2 separate regions of the Homo sapiens genome follow, and region 1 is linked to region 2. Evidence: promoter capture Hi-C in 16 types of primary human blood cells and fetal thymus (Javierre and others, 2016). All regions are on one chromosome and are shown on one strand. Each heading gives the region's core, a stretch centred on a gene start or on the middle of the fragment in contact. The rest is flanking DNA. Distances are from core to core; before and after follow the strand shown.

Evidence for each region. Contacts are between HindIII fragments. The CHiCAGO score rates a contact against its expected background, and 5 or more counts as called.
Region 1: a contact is called between a fragment that was not itself captured here and the fragment with the promoter of PURG in region 2, in 1 of 17 cell types (non-activated CD4 T cells). The highest score is 5.5, in non-activated CD4 T cells.

What each region holds. Positions count from the first base shown.
Region 1 is chr8:29,258,474-29,262,649 of GRCh38, reverse strand. All of the region lies in intron 1 of KIF13B (kinesin family member 13B), which reads left to right. Among named protein-coding and RNA genes, the nearest start is that of KIF13B, 2.5 kb to the left of the region's middle. RefSeq lists a silencer at 1-202. The HindIII fragment of the contact is 3,145 bases long and covers 796-3,940 here.
Region 2 is chr8:31,030,791-31,035,398 of GRCh38, reverse strand. PURG (purine rich element binding protein G) reads left to right here and starts at 2,043. Exons shown (of 2, transcript NM_001323311.2): 1 at 2,043-2,321; 2 at 2,611-4,549. The coding sequence starts at 2,617. The coding sequence ends at 3,660. WRN (WRN RecQ like helicase) reads right to left here and starts at 1,589. Exons shown (of 35, transcript NM_000553.6): 1 at 1,426-1,589. RefSeq lists enhancers at 432-481, 1,315-1,836 and silencers at 552-621, 1,592-1,851, 2,012-2,061. The HindIII fragment of the contact is 5,494 bases long and covers 1-3,534 here.

The DNA.
Region 1 (4,176 bases), core at 1,119-3,618, 1.8 Mb after region 2:
CGCCCAGCCTCGTCCTGGCCCCTCAGCCTCGCTCCTTCCCCGCCAGCTGTCATCGTCGCCCCCGCGCGCGGGTCGCCAGCCCCTGCAGCCCGCCTCGGGACCGCCCGGGACCCCCCGGGACCCCGCGTCTCGCCCGGGTCGCCCAAGCCTGCACCGCCTTGGCCCGCGGCGGGAAGAAGGGCAGGGGGCCAGGCGGGTGCCCCGCGGCGAGTTCCTTCCACCTGGGCGTCCTGAGATTGGGGTCAGGTGGAGGAGATGCCCTTTTCGTTGTTTTTGGACAGTTGAGAAAGTTTTGGTTTTGCCTGAAGTCTCATTCATCATCTCTCAATAAATAGCTAAAGTGCCAAGATTCTTGTGGAATTGTATCTTTCTGACATTCTCTTAACTCTGCAGGGAGTGTAGAGAAGGCAGATAAACCGAGTACATTTAAATAATCTGTAGACCCGGGGAGTGGAGAGAACCCCAAAAGTCAGGGGAGGAGGTGGGCTGGGTCTTGGCTTTGATAGTCAAAGCAGCATGACTGGGTGAGTTGCTTTAAATAAGATAATGTGTTTGAAAACGCTTTATATACAAGGTCCTGTCATTGGGGGTCACTATTACTGTCTCAGGAGATGACTTTGCCATTGATGAGACTTTGAACTAATTAGAATCATTTAAGTACCAGAGACAAAGTTGTAGCTTCTTAGCAAAATCAAGTGTTGTTTAATTTTTATGTAGAAATTATAGGTTGTTTTCCTCTTCTTTGCTTTCTTTTGTATATATTGAGACATACAGATCAACCAGTTGACATAAGCTTTGTTGGTTTGTCCTTCTCGGGGAAATTGGTTTCTCGCTTGGAGTTATCTCATCTATGGGAATTGTTTTGTCCTGTTCCTGCTAGGTCCGATTAAAGCTGTCAGGTGAGTTTTTTTCCCTAAGAACTTAATTACTTTAAGTTCTCAACTAGTGCAAGATTGAGTCCTGCTTTGCTTCACTAATCTCGTGCTCTGACAACACACAATAAACGTCGATACAATTCTGAAAATTTTCAGAAGCATCAGTTTTTAAATATTCAGGTATCTGTATTTCAGTTTACTTCCAGTTTACCATCACAATAATTTAAAGAAAGAAGCCAAATGAAACATAACTTATCTGGGAATTGATTCTGAAAGGATGGTTTCAGCACATTCTTAAAATTTCCTTTTCACAAAAAACTTGGAAATGTCAGTGCTAAAAAGAGGCCGCTAACCAACCACCACAAAAGACATCTCAGATATTTAGAGCCCTTTCCCTCTCCCTTTCCCCATTGGTTTCACTTTTTGAGGGAAATTCTTATGCTTTTCTCTTATAAATTGCCATTGATAAGGTTGTAATAAACATCAGAGTTTAGAGGAAGGCAAAGAATAATAGTTTTAGCTGTGGAACGGATGTGAGCTGATCCTTGGGTTCAACAATCATTTTGAAATTGAGGTTTACCCATAGATTCCATTAGCCTATATAGAGAAGTGCATTATTTGGTGTAAAGTACCTCCTGTGTTCACTTAGTGCCCATTCTTAGCCTTATATTTCCTGACGTGCATGTGGACTTCTTTTTTCAGTGATTACCACACATAAATTTGTTCTTTTCCATTTTTGTTATGAAGTAATTGTTCACATAAATATAAAGGTTATTATGGAATACAGTGTGGTGGGATTGTAAATCCAGTGATTTTTAAAAATTGGTGTCCAAAGTTTGTATAAAAAGACTAAAACAGGCCAGGCACGGTGGCTTACGCTTATAATCCCAGCACTTTGGGAGGCCGAGGCGGGTGGATCACCTGAGGTCAGGAGTTCGAGACCAGCCTGCCTAACATGGCAAAACCCTGTCTCTACTAAAAATACAAAAAATTAGCCGGGCGTGGTGGTGGACGCCTGTAATCCCAGCTACTAAGGAGGCTGAGGCGGGAGAATAGCCTGAACCCAGGAGGCGGAGGTTGCAGTGAGCCAAGATCGTGCCACTGTGCTCCACCCTGGGCGACAAGAGTGAAACTCTGTCTCAAAAAAAAAAAAGACTAAAACAAAACCATATTTCTTTCCAGTAATTTCCTTTTTTTTCTTCCTTGTATGATCTGTAGGAACCTTTCCAGTAATTTTGAAAAGAATATTACTTTGAACAGTTATTAGTATTATGTAATACTGTATAATTATGACAAAGAGTAAAACTTGAGTCCTAATAGTTTCTATCATATAGGTGCCGGAAGCAACCTTATAAATCGCTATCTATAAAAGAGGACGGGGATGAGAATGGGTTACTGTGATGATGTAGTTTTACTGTGTAGACTCTGATATTTGGAATCACATTAGCTATCTTTTGAGGAAAATCTGAAAATTTCCAGAAAACTCTGGTGTATTAAGTTCTTGTGTGATTCAGTGGTTGTGCTTAGGTGTTTGGAGTTTTAAGGTGGTTAGCTGATTTATTATTTAACAGTTATCCTCGAAGTGAGAGTATTTTAGTCTTTCTGCTAAACTGTATGTGGGTTTGGGAACCTTAGTTATTTGAAGGTTAAGCATTAGGCCCTAATTCAGTAACAGGAAGAGTTGTAATGGCTAATTTGTCAGAAATATTTGTCTAGTCATACATTTATTTTAACATTCCACTAACAAAAGGAAAAAGAAAAAGAAAAAAGTTCACATACTTTCTTCATCCTAACAGCTTTTCATTTCCATGCCAGTTTGTGCTCACACGTGTATGTAATTTTACATAATTTTAATATTACAACCTTTATTTTGCCTTTCTTCATCTGAGATGCAAAGCTAAACAACTAGAGAAAAGGGTAAATTTTTGTCACAAGATCTTCAAGTTCTATTTGCAGATATCGTTTGTTTTCCAGTGTTGTTGTTCAGACTGTACAGCTAAACAGATAATTCTTGTGTGCTTCCATGTGCCGCACAGAACACCCATTCATACATTATTAACCCGTCTAATCATTACAGGAGCTGAAAGTTCTGTAGCCGTAATTGGTGGGATTAGTTAGATCAGCAACATTCTCCTTTCCAGGAATTTGATGTTTTCTAACTTTAGGTGGCTTAAAAAACATTTAATAGGTAAGCAAACATTGATTGAGTGCCTGCCAGGTATCTGGCTTATATTAGATAGGATGAGATCTTAATGCTTTTCCTCAAGGGATTTCCTGTGTGTAAATCTGTATAAGATCAACTACCAAAATAAGTAAATATCTATAAAAGGTGTTTGGAATACCTTTGTTACCTACCTAGCCTAAGGGGGTAGAACCGGGAAACGAAAGAAATGAAGATAGAAACAGTGAAATAGATTATTTCAGGTGTTAGGGAGAATGGACAAGAAATTTATTTCAGGAGATATTTCAAATGAGTTTACTTGGCATTTTCCAATACTTGATGTGGTGAAAGACACAGAAGTATGTAATAATGTCTAATAGAGTCAATGTAGAGTCAGTGCCTTGGTAATCATGATCTAGTATCTCAATGGAGGGACTATTATACAGCGATTAAAATGATGACAGTCAAAACCATTTAACAAGGAAGATCGTTTTCTCTGTTAGTGGAAAAAGAATGTAAAGCTGTACGTGTAACTGATCAAATCTATTATTATTACTATGTAAAAATGTATACAGGAATGGGCAAGAGCTAGAAAGAAACATGAAAAAGTGAAATTGATTGTTCTTGTTAGGGGGATTTTACTTCCTAAAAGTTTTCTTAGGGTTGCCTGTTACCATCATATTCAGTTTCTTAAAGCATGCTTTATGGTTCATGCCTGTGAGGAAATGACTGTCATGGGCTTGAAAAGAAAATGCCTGTGAAAAGATTAGATTAAAAGGTAAACAGCTGTAGCAGGCTGCTAGTTACTAAGTGCCAGGTGAATGACAGGGAAATAAGGGAATCGAGAGGAGTTTAGACTTCACTGAGGAGGGTGAACTTTGGTTGGACTTCCAGGGAGGAAGCTTATGATGTGAGCACGGGAGAGGGGATGGCATGTATTCTTTGAGGAGGAAGTATGGCCTGAGAGTGAGGACACAGAGACTAGAATGAGTAAAGCAGGTTTAGGCAGCAGAGATGAGATCTGCCTGCCAGAATGGAGATTCTGTGAGGATAGCTAGAGAATGATGGGACAGGAAAGGTCAGGTGGATTGCAGGAAGCCCTGAAAGCAGCCAGGCCAGAAGTCCGGACCTAGGGTGGCT
Region 2 (4,608 bases), core at 794-3,293:
AAGGTAAGTTCTCTCACTTCCTTGAGCTCTGGACTCAAAAATTCCCTTCTCAGCGAGGACGTCCCTGACCACTTATTGTAAAACTGCAGCTCCCTACAGCCCCCCACCCACAACACACACACACACTCTTCATCCCCCTTTCCTTTTTAATCTCTATTTTCACCTTCTGTCATCCTATAATTTTACTTTTTGCCTGTCTCTTTCCACTAAAATGTAAGCTCCAAAAGGAGAGAGATGTTTGTCTGTTTTGTTCATTGTTGGTATCTCTAGTGCCTAGAGCAGTCCTTAATAAACATTTGTTGGATTAATAAAGGGAGACCACTGTGGGGGAAAAAAAATAAAAGAAAATAAAATTTTAGCTGAAGAATGCAAGCCCCTTTAAATTATCAGGCCCAGAGAGGCATTAGAATGAAAAAACAGTCCCGTCTCACTCCCGGTCTGAGCTGGATAATTATCTCTTAAAGCCCACCTGCTATATGGGCTCTAGACTGGAACCAAGAAGCCATAAAATGCCATATGCTGGACACGATAACTCATACCCTATGAGTTACAGTGTACAGCCAATCACTAAGCAATGGTATCTCTGTAAACCAATAACAATTCCTGACCAACTTTGTCTCAGCCCACTCTTCCCCTTCGCCTTTAAAAACCTGCTTGTAACCAAGGCTGAAGGAGCACTCCCCAAGGCAACTGGGAAATGAGTCCTGGGCAGCTGTCCTCATTTTGGCTGAAGTAAACACTTTAAATTATAATTTTGTGCCCCAGCCTCTTCCTTTTAGGTAGACACCACTATTCAATGACATCAAGATCTGAACTGTCCTACTTATCCCAATATCCCACCCCTAAAAAGAAATGTACCGAACCATAAAAAGCCTGAAGTACTCCGACTTACAGACTCCTGTATTAGCATCCTAAGAATTATATTACCCTCTTCAATAGGGAGTAGTATTTTTCATATCAAACCTAGCCTGAGAACAACTGAGATTCAACTAGGAAAAAAAGAAAAGAAAATCCATTAAAGACTGAGTGATTTGAACTCAAAAATATCCATCATCACTTGCTAAATCATAGACAGCAGGTTATTTCCCTCGACTTTGCTGTGCAGACCTGTAGTGGCTCAATTTCTGCCATAATAAAGGCCGTACTAGAAAGAGCAATCCTAACTAAGCGCGCAAGGTAAACATCAAGCTGGGGCCGTCAGGGGCGGGGAAACACTTTCTGAATGGCGGAAGCTCCGAGAGACGCCTTTCCCAGCTGCTCCAGAGGGGAAAGGAAAAGGGAGAAAGTCTGTTTTTCCAGAATCTCCCAAACACAGCCCAGGGGCCTGCTCCGCGGGCCTAAGCGCCTCCACGTGTCTCAGAAGCCTAGCACTATAGATACCCCGGGGCACGGAGCTGGGAAAACGGGAATAGGAAGACACTTTACCCCGAGAAGATCCAGTCCAACAGGTCTTCTTCAGCCGGATGACTGTGGAGCGCCACCACAAGCAGGGCCTGCAACCCAGGCATCCAGGCTAGACACCAAATCAGCAAACTTTATTCCCGCGCTGCCGAGTACAAGCCGGCGCCTCCCCGGCGCACACAGTACACATCAGCTCCGGGAGACCTACCCGACCCGCCCCTCCAGCGCCGTCCCCGCCCCCGTTCCTGCCCCACCCCTTTCCCCGCCCCCGGCCCGGCTCGCCTTTCTCGCGGCGCTGCAACCCTCCCACCACAGCCCATCCAGCCCCGCCCAGCGCGCCGCGGTGCGCATGCGTGGAGGCCCTCGCTGCCGCTGAGCACCTCGGGAAGTGTAGTCTCTTCGCAGGTGCGGCTGGGCAGCTAGAGTCCTGCATCCCGGTGGAATCCGGAGAAGTGAGAACATTCCCGCCGCCCGGTCCTCATTCCCATCTTCCCACCTGTCCAGTCCCCTCGCACTCCCGCTGCACCCCACGCGCCGGGCTTCAGTCAGAGAGTGCACTGAGGAAGAGCGGAGACCCCCTCTTCCCCTCAGCAGGCTGTGCCGGGGGAGGCGGGGTCCACCGCCCGCCCCCCGCCGTCGCTCTCCCCGCCTCCCCTTCCCTCCCCTCCTGGCGGGTGCGGGGCCGGTGTCCGAAGTCAGGCGGCGGCCCCCGCAGCGGCCGCAGGAGGGGCGGCTGCGGTGGGCGCCGCGGGCGATGCCCCTGCCCGGCTGCTCCGGCGGGGGGCAGTGCGAGCGGCGGCGGCGGGGGAGGAGGCGGGGGGCGGCGGCTGCGGCGGCTGCAGCAGAGGGGCCGAGAGCTGGCGGTGGCGGCGGCGGTGGTCGTGAAGGGCATCGGCGGCGGCGGTGATGGCAGAGATGATGTGAGTGCCCGCCGGCTGGAGACCTGGGGCCGCGGAGCGCGGGACGGGCGGCGGCGGCGTGCGGGAGCGGCCCCGGGGGCGGCGGAGGGATGCGGGGAGCGCGGGCAGAGCCGGAGCGGCGGCCGCCAACCGGCCGGCAGTGGCTGGAGCCCCGCGCTGCGGCGCCGGGGGAGCCGGGCCCGGCGTGGGGGTCGCGGGCGGCGGCGGGGCGGTCAGGCCGAGGGGCGTCTGCGATTGTTCTCAACACCCCTCCCCCACCCCATCCCGTGTGTCTGTTTGTTACTTGCAGCTGAAGATGGAAAGAGCCAGGCGAAGGGGAGGCGGCGGCGGCCGCGGCCGCGGAGGCAAGAATGTAGGGGGCTCTGGCCTAAGCAAGAGTAGACTCTATCCCCAGGCCCAGCACTCCCACTACCCCCACTACGCGGCCTCAGCCACCCCTAATCAGGCCGGGGGCGCAGCCGAAATCCAGGAGCTGGCCTCCAAACGAGTGGACATCCAGAAAAAGAGGTTTTACCTAGACGTGAAGCAAAGCTCCCGGGGCCGCTTCCTAAAGATAGCCGAAGTCTGGATAGGGAGAGGCCGGCAGGACAACATCAGAAAGAGTAAACTGACCCTCTCCCTGTCTGTGGCAGCGGAGCTGAAGGACTGTCTAGGGGACTTCATCGAGCACTATGCCCACCTGGGCCTGAAAGGCCACCGGCAAGAGCATGGCCACAGCAAAGAGCAAGGCTCCAGAAGGAGGCAGAAGCACTCGGCACCCTCCCCACCAGTCTCGGTGGGGTCCGAAGAGCATCCTCACAGTGTCCTGAAAACAGACTATATCGAGAGGGACAATAGGAAATATTACCTAGACCTAAAGGAAAATCAGCGGGGTCGCTTCCTACGGATTAGACAAACCATGATGCGGGGGACTGGCATGATAGGTTATTTTGGCCACAGTTTGGGCCAAGAACAGACTATTGTCCTCCCAGCACAAGGAATGATTGAGTTTCGTGATGCCTTGGTTCAGCTGATTGAAGACTATGGCGAAGGAGACATAGAAGAACGAAGAGGTGGAGACGATGACCCGCTTGAACTCCCAGAGGGGACTTCTTTCAGAGTGGACAATAAAAGGTTCTACTTTGATGTGGGCTCTAATAAATATGGAATTTTCCTGAAGGTAAGTGAGGTGAGACCACCTTACCGTAATACTATTACTGTTCCATTCAAAGCTTGGACAAGGTTTGGGGAGAATTTTATCAAGTATGAAGAAGAGATGAGGAAAATTTGCAACAGCCATAAAGAAAAGAGAATGGATGGCAGAAAGGCCAGTGGTGAAGAACAAGAATGCCTCGACTAGAGTGAAATTGAACTCCATCAGGCAAAATTTAAAATCACAAATTGGCTAAAAGTACTGATCCATTATCCTTTGAAGAAGTTTTTCCTCTTTTTTGGCCCGTTGTTATTAGTAATACCTCTAGTAGTTGATACTTCAGGAAGTCTGATTCTCATGTTATGTTACACATAGATCACTATAATTCTTACGGGAATTCCAACCTTCCCAGAGCTAAATAGTTTAGCTGCTTCAACTGCTCCAGACTATTGAAGTATGCAAATCAGCACAAAATGTGACATTCTGACATTCTAAATACCATAACTAAGATTTACATTGCACTATGACATAATCCCGAAAAAAGATACATATACTTAAATAGAAGTGTGACTTTCCCCCAAAAGTATTTCAATTCTACTTCATTAAAAGCTGCTAAGCTTACCTGTAGGGCAGTTACCACAGAAACAGAAATTGACCTCCGGTATATATAAATATTTACTTATAAAAGTACAAGTAGACGTATATTGTCCGTTGAATAACTGAATATACCATCAAAGGATCAAATCTTATTACCTAATTAAACCTTAAAAATATAATGTCATAATATTTCTTAAGAATACTATAGTATTCTATAATTTCAAACTTTGTGGTAACCCTACATTTTATAGTTGCCATATCAAAGCCATGGGAGAGTTTTAATTCGTTATTCTAAGTTTAGTTACAATCCCTTCTTTACCTCTACTTAATGTTCCATATATTTTTATTGACTTTCCAAAGTTTCAGGAATTACTTTTATGTCACATTGAGTGGGAGGCTTCATCCAATGGCTTTGCTATGGAAATCTTGGTGGTGTAGCTTTTCATGCTAATTTAAAGATTGCAAGAGGTTTCTTCCCCAAAATATATCATGGACTCAAGGTGTTATACTTTATGCTTCTTCTTTAACACTCTTTCAGAAGGGTTGGTGTACCAATTA